2 separate regions of the Homo sapiens genome follow, and region 1 is linked to region 2. Evidence: promoter capture Hi-C in 16 types of primary human blood cells and fetal thymus (Javierre and others, 2016). All regions are on one chromosome and are shown on one strand. The core of a region is centred on a gene start or on the middle of the fragment in contact, and the rest is flanking DNA. Distances in the headings are between cores, read along the strand shown. Region 1 holds the start of TDRD3 (tudor domain containing 3). Region 2 holds the start of CKAP2 (cytoskeleton associated protein 2).

The links. Contacts are between HindIII fragments. The CHiCAGO score rates a contact against its expected background, and 5 or more counts as called.
Region 1: a fragment that was not itself captured here is called in contact with the fragment with the promoter of CKAP2 in region 2 in 1 of 17 cell types (total CD4 T cells); the score reaches 5.1 in total CD4 T cells.

The regions. Positions count from the first base shown.
Region 1 is chr13:60,396,713-60,400,231 of GRCh38, forward strand. It overlaps TDRD3 (tudor domain containing 3), which reads left to right and starts at 508. Exons shown (of 14, transcript NM_001146070.2): 1 at 508-693. The coding sequence starts at 653. RefSeq lists enhancers at 1-159, 1-380, 230-429, 1,310-1,359 and a silencer at 570-1,139. The HindIII fragment of the contact is 2,511 bases long and covers 17-2,527 here.
Region 2 is chr13:52,453,479-52,457,001 of GRCh38, forward strand. CKAP2 (cytoskeleton associated protein 2) reads left to right here and starts at 2,000. Exons shown (of 9, transcript NM_018204.5): 1 at 2,000-2,148; 2 at 3,045-3,129. The coding sequence starts at 2,079. It overlaps CKAP2-DT (CKAP2 divergent transcript), which reads right to left and starts at 1,868. Exons shown (of 1, transcript NR_185890.1): 1 at 1,297-1,868. RefSeq lists enhancers at 1,151-1,330, 1,621-1,700. The HindIII fragment of the contact is 3,306 bases long and covers 1-2,754 here.

The DNA of each region.
Region 1 (3,519 bases), core at 22-2,521, 7.9 Mb after region 2:
CGCGGGGACTCAAAAAAGCTTGAGCTGCATTTTTTCTTTGCGTCCGGGCGGACCAAAAGGCGAGGTGAAGGGAACGAGTGTTTATAAGAAAGTAAACTTTTGTGCAGAATGGGCTGGGGACACCTCTGAGTTTTGCTGCCCGCAACGTGACCTTTTTAGCGCGGTCCTGGACGCGTTCCCTCGCAGCCAACCCGTCAGTCTCCTCAGGCCTTATCCTGCCCTCTCTGAGGTGGCCGCCTGTGGGCGCTGCAAACGCCACACTTTTGCTCTACGAAGAACCTCCTCGCGACTTTCCAAGGTGTGCAACTCAGAAAAGCGCCCCCCAAAACAAGTAAAAGCCTTCGGGGAAGAGGCAAAGTCCCTGAACCGTCCTGACTCCAGCCACCAGCCGGTGTTTGGTGGATCAGGTCCCGGAGCTCCGCAGCCTGGGAGCCCCACACCAGGCCGGCCCCTACGGCCGCTCAGAAAACGCGGCGAGCGGAACCCGCACGCGGAAGCGCCGGCCGCACTGAGCATGCCCAGTTGCAGAGCCGACCAGAGGAGTTTTTTCTTTTCTTTTCTTTTTTTTTTTTTAAGGGGGGGGGTCTCAAGTAGGAGGCCTCCCCATCACCCCCACCCCAGCCCCCCACCACCCCCGGCCTAAGCAGCTACCATGGCCCAGGTGGCCGGCGCGGCGTTGTCCCAGGCGGGTTGGTAAGTGGCGAGTCCCGCCGGCTGCCGGGCCGCGGGTGCGGGCCGGGGCCCCAGGGAGGTTGGGTTGGGGGCGGCGGGGTGCGTGTCGGGGTAGGCGGAGGCTGTCGTCCGCCCCCGGCCTCTCCCCGGGCCCTTCGGGCCGGCTCCGCCCCCGGCGCCACGCGGAGCCCTGCGAGTTCCCCTAGGTCCCCTGGAGGCGGCGGCGGCGGCGGCCTGGGCCCCGGGCGGCGGGCCTGGGCCCCGGGCGGCGGGCGGCGGGCCTGGGGAGAGGCCGGGGGCCGCGAGCCGGGCGGGTGGCGGCCCAGACCCCGGCCGACCGGAGCGCCGGGGAGGACCTGCAGCGCCGTCCGCGCGGCTTCTCCGGGGAGGGGGTGTTTCTGCAGCGGGATCGGGAGGCGAGGGCTGGGAACGAAGTGCGGCGGAGAGGGACGAACGCGGCCGGAGCCCGCGGGCCCATAGGAAGTTGAGGGCAGAGCAGAGCACAGCCCGCGCTGCGGCCGGAGCCGCCTCTTCTTACCCCTTATTTCAAAGTACAGTGTGGACCAGTGTGAATCTGCCTTCCGCGGCACACACACAACTTCTGGAGCTAAGAATGACCGCAATGTCAACTCGTGGGGGTGCTCGGTAGAACTTTTCTTGAAAGGATGGTGTTCTGATTTTAAGAGGCCTTTCGTGTCAAGATTTTCAGGATTTGAAAACAATACAAAATTATGCGAAATTAGGCAGTTTCTGGAATTGCGGCCATTACGGTTGTAATCATCCCGTTTAATTCAGTAACGCTTTTCCCAGGCTTGCACAGGCACATTCTGGGATGAAGGGTAGGAACGGGGATGAAAAAGATTTGCAACGGCTCTCTGCAATTACTGCTTTAGGAGAAAGAGTGAGGCATTAAAAGACCAAACAAAACCAGGGGGAATAGTGATAAACCGTACGTACAGAGGAACAGATGAGTGCACTGTGGAATGGGAGGGAGAGTTACTTTCCTAAAGTGGACTTGGAAAGATGGTAAGGAAAAGGCTTTCTAGCACAGAGCTGCTGGAGATGACACAGGGAAGCGCTTATTGTTTTGCAGAACCTACACAAGATCTATATGGTTCGTGAAAGATGTGGATTTGATTTTGTGAATAAAGTTTTTGATCAGTAGAGGGATATAATCACAACTGTGCTTTGAAGAAGCCCCTCCTGATTTTAAAGGCACTTGTGTTATTATACACCCCATTTTACAGGTGAGGAGACTGAGGCAAAGAGCTGTTAAGTAACTTTCCCAAAATGACATAGCTAGAAAGTGGTGGAGTTGAATGTTGAGCACAGAGGGCCTGGCTCTGGGCCTGGTTCCTTTAACGCTTATGCGTTATTGTTGTTACAGTTTTTTCGCAGAACAGCATGGGCGTAAAAGATTGTAGAGTTAAAAACACTGTCTTCAGTTTTGTTTCTGTTCAATAGGAATCTCTTCTTTCAGTTTTTTTACCCACAAGGGTGTCCTGAATAATCTTGGATCCCTCTTTCATTTGCCTTTCTCCCCATTTCTCATTAGGTTGAGCGTTGATCCTTCACACTAGTAATATTTTCATTTACAAACTCAGTATTTTACTGCTTTCCAACATGACCCCCCCTCCTTTGGAAAGATTAGTCTCATTTTTTAGGTCCCGAACACGTGTTGACTTTGTTTTCTCTGGCCTCTTATGCTTTTCCAGGGCAGGGAAGTGAGTCTTATTTTTCTCCTTATCTGGATTGTCAAGAAATGCACCAGATTGTAGGTTCTCTGTAAAGTCTAATACAGTTGACCTTGGAATGCCCCTGCCAGTCAGAATTCTCTGGGCAGGGCCTCTGCAGAAGCTTAGGTAGAGTCCCACCCTGCTTCGTTATATTGTTATAAATCTTCAGCAATGTTATATTGTAGCATTTGCTACTTTATATTGCAACTTAACTGTTTATGTTTCTCCCACCTGTCTGTGCTGCTTCTGTATGGCAGTGACTCATAAAGGCAGTAGTAATCTGCGGGGCTAAAAACACTATCTTTCTAGGAATTGTGAGTTTCATGTAATTCCTGCTAGGTCTCGAACAGACTAGGCATGAGGATCTCCTAGGCTTTCAGGTGGCTTCTACTAGGTCTTTAATTGGGGACTTACTATGTTAAAATTTAGAATCACAAAGGTTTAAAGGCAGAAAAGAGCACTGGAGGGAAAATTTCTGACTGAAGGGCTTTCACCAACTCATTTTAGTTCTTATATCCTGAGTTTGCTCTTACACTTGGGGTTCTCTGTTAACTGTCACTGACAAACCATTTTTCTTAGTATTCAAATCTATGTACTTAGTTACTTGTAGAAGCTAAAAAGAAGTAGATGCTAAAACATGGACACACTATTGTTAAATCTGTTCTATAGGCTTCACCTAAAATAGCAGATTAGGGAAATATTTAGTGCTGAAAAGTTTACAATTCTGAAAATGTGATCTTCAGGGGGGTACAGAAGATCTATGTAGACCAATCTGTTCAAGTTTACATTATTTTTAAGCGCAGTTTTTTTCCTTCTTAAGGTTTTAATCTTCATTAGAACCCCTATAAAAATCAGTATTTTAAAATATAACTTCAAAAGTAGCTACCTGGCGGACTTAAAATAATTTTTGTTCTTCAATGGCCAGTAGCACACAAACTATTAGATTTTGCTGATTTGAACTTGAATGTTCCAGGGCTTTCTACAGAGTAGTGATAATGTTTAAATAATGCACTAAATGGTACCTTGTAAAGCTTAATTATATGCATGGAATAACTTCACGGGGAGAAGAAATTTGACTCTGAATTTATCTAGATAACAATTTTACTCACTC
Region 2 (3,523 bases), core at 750-3,249:
TGACCACAGGAGGAACGACTAACACTAATTAATCATCAGTACTCCAGGTGCCTGCAGTTTCATGGTCAGCTGTGTTGGCAAAGAACTGTTCTGAAAGGAAATCTTTTTTGTTTTGTTTTTTTTGTTTGTTTTTTGGATCTTTTAGAAAAAGGTCTGCTTTCTCTGCAATAATTGTGTAGCAGTAATATTAAAAAGTGTCTCAAAAATAGACATATCATTGGAGTGGGTGAGTCTGGAGATTAGAGGAGAATTGCCATTTTGAAAAACCTAGCAGTTTGGCAGGTTTTCCTATTCATCTCAGCCTACTGAGATCTCCATGGTATCCTTTGAGTCAATTTCTTTTTTTACCATGCCCACTTATAAAAAATTATTGAGGTTCACATAACATAAAATTAATCATTTTAAAGTGAACAACTCAATGGCATTAATACATTTACAATGTCACCCAACCACTACCTCTAATTCCAAAACATTTCACTTACTTCAAGGTAATGAAACCCTTGTCCATTAAACTGTCTCCCAATTCTCCCCCTACCCTCAGCCTCTGGCAACTACTATTCTGAGTTATTTCACTATGGATGTATCTATTTTAGATCTTTCATATAAATGGAATCATACCATATGTAACTTTTCATATATTACTTCTTTTACTTAGCATAATGTTTTGGAGGTTTTTGAGTCACTTATTAACGCTGTATTTTGTTCTCACTTAATAGAAATCCCTGGTTGCCCCACCTGTCTGATGAAACTTTAGTAAATAATCAACAATAATGACAGACGTATTTAAACAGCAAGTTATATCTTAAGGATGGTGATGGACAATGTTAAACTAAAACTGGGACATTTCATCAAGTAAAAAACTACACAAAATCTCAAACCAAATTCCTCATTAGCAAGACGCTACCATAAGATGTCTGAAGAAAAAAGCAGGCAGAAGTGGGAAAAACTGACCACAGCCGAGGGCCAGCTGTGGAGGCCCTCAGACCTGGGAAGGGTAAACGGGGAAATCACATCCTCCCGTCTGTGTGCCCGGAGCACCTAAAACCTGGCTGAAAGAGTCCAGTCCAGCCTTACTGCAGTGATCAGGCAAGAAATGTAAACCCAGTGCTTGAAACCAGGCAGGTGCAGTCCAGACTCGCCCTCACTTCCCCACTGCCACTCTTAAAACCTTCTAGCCCTGACTTGTTTCGTTCTGTCATGTGGATTGAGTGTTTGTGTGGGTTTTATGAAGGTGGTATTTTTAGATGAGAAAAACGAAGATTATGGCGGCACACTTAACCACACAAACACAAAACGTCTGTAACAAATGCTATTTTATCTTCAAAGGAGAATTATATATAACCTTGAGGAGGGGATGAGGTTTATCTTCATTTTTTTCTGTTTCTCCTCCTCTCCTCCCTTTTTTGCATTTGATAATTGCTTAGAATAAAGGTATGGAAAGTAGATCCCAATTTCAGTTCCCCTTCACACGCTGTGCAAACGTGGACAAACAACCTCTGAACCTGTCACCTCTCAGTGGAAAAAGTGGTGATAACGTCCCACCTCAGAATTGATGCTCAAAATGAAGCAGTATTTGTGAAACGAAAATACACACGCTCGTGGTACGCCAGATCGGTGTTTACGTCCTCGTCAGTGAACGCGTCGATGTTTAATAAGAAGGGCAGCCAATCAACACTTTTCTTGTCTTTTTCTCGTCTGCCTTCCTCCAAGGACTGTGAGGGTCTCAAGATGTGTCCCATCTCGGTTGTTTGTCAACCTAGTCCTGCTATGTCGTGGGGACTGAGCAGGCCGACTCCTCCCCCATCGCACGTCCAGGATGAAGAGCGCTGTTTAGGTTTGAAACCTGCAGACTCAGTCCCAACCGAACTGGGCAGACACCAGACCGGCCCCGGCAACTGCAGTCCAGGCTCCGCCTCCCTACGCCCATTGGCTTATTCAATTCACGCAGGAACCAATGGGCGGAGACGGCAGCCGCGCCGTCTGACGGCTTAGCCGCGGTGCAGACTGCGGCGGCGGTGGTCTGAGGAAGTTCTATCTTGGCGCTAAAGCGGAGACGCATCCCCCGACCCGAGGCTACGATGAGCACACCGGCCGTGCCCCAGGACCTGCAGCTGCCCCCGAGTCAGAGGGCGCAGTCCGCATTCAAAGGTGAAGGCCGCGGTGGCGGTGGCGGTGGCGGTGGCGGTGGCGGTGGCGGGCGCGGGCCCGGCGGTCGGGGCTCGGGGCCGCGCTGGCGCGCTTCACCTCTCCCCCGCTCTGTGAGATCCCTGAACGCGGCGTCGGCCTCGCCCTGCCTCATTCTTGGCCTTGTGGAACGGATCATAAAAACAGGAACCGCTGCGTGGTGTTACTGTGCGGTCGCTGCTGGCTGGGATGGGCCCTCCTAAGAAGGAATCCGTTAGGCGAGGGGAAACGCGCGGGCCTCAGGCCGGGGTCGGTGTCGGAGACCCTGGGTCCGCTTGGGGGCGGGGCTGCACAGGTTCAGGGACCGACTGCGCCTGCGCTGGGTCCTCCGCCTCTTAGGTCCCTAGCGAATTTCTGCAGGGCTGGGGTCGCATCATGTGTTATTTCCAATTTCACAGCTTCTCCTTCGACTTTATGGAAACCGAGGGTTGGTTGGGTCTTCAAAACTAATATTGTTATTCCCTTATTCTACACACGGGAAAGCAGAAGAAAGTAATTCTCATCTAACCCAGTTCTGGTAAATTAGAACTTTCGAGTCTAGTGCCTCACTTCTACCATTTAGTTTCTTAAAGCTTGGCTAGCAGGAGCTGTATGTAGAAAATGATGTTCTCCAGATTTTTCACAGGGAGTAGAGAATGTGATTCTTATGCAGAGGGGTTTTGGGGACCTGTTGTGGTAACAGTCTCTTCTAAGGTGATTTCTCAAAGGCAATATTGAATTGGAGAATTTTCTGTTATATAGATGTGACCTCAGGTGGAACCAGCTTTGGAAGTAAACTCTTCATTTAGTCAACAAGATTTATTTGCCGTTATCGATGTTTTAACTAATATTGACTTGTAGCTCTTACCTTTGTTATCTAGAGCAAAGAAGACAAAAACTCAAGGAACATCTGTTGAGAAGAAAAACGCTTTTTGCATACAAGCAGGAAAATGAGATGTTATCCAGGTAAGGTCAAGTTTATTTCTTTTCACTTCTGTAAAATTGTATCAGATCTGTCCAATGAAAATGTAAAGTAAGCCATATCTGTAATTTTAAATTTTCTAGTAGCCACATTTAGAAAAACTGCTTACATATTATTTTACGTCTTTTTGTGGTACAACGTCTTTAAAATCTGGTGTCTATTTTACAGTTACAGGACATTTCCATTTGGTCTATCCACATTTCAAGCACTCAGTAGCCACATTGGCTAGTGGCTACTTTATTGGATGGTGCAGCATTAGATCATCGTTTTATTAATTTTTTTTTTTTTGAGACAGAGTCTCACTCTGTTGCCAGGTTGGAGTGCAGTAGCGTGATCTTGGCTCACTGCAGCCTCCACCTTCTGGGTTCAAGTGAATCT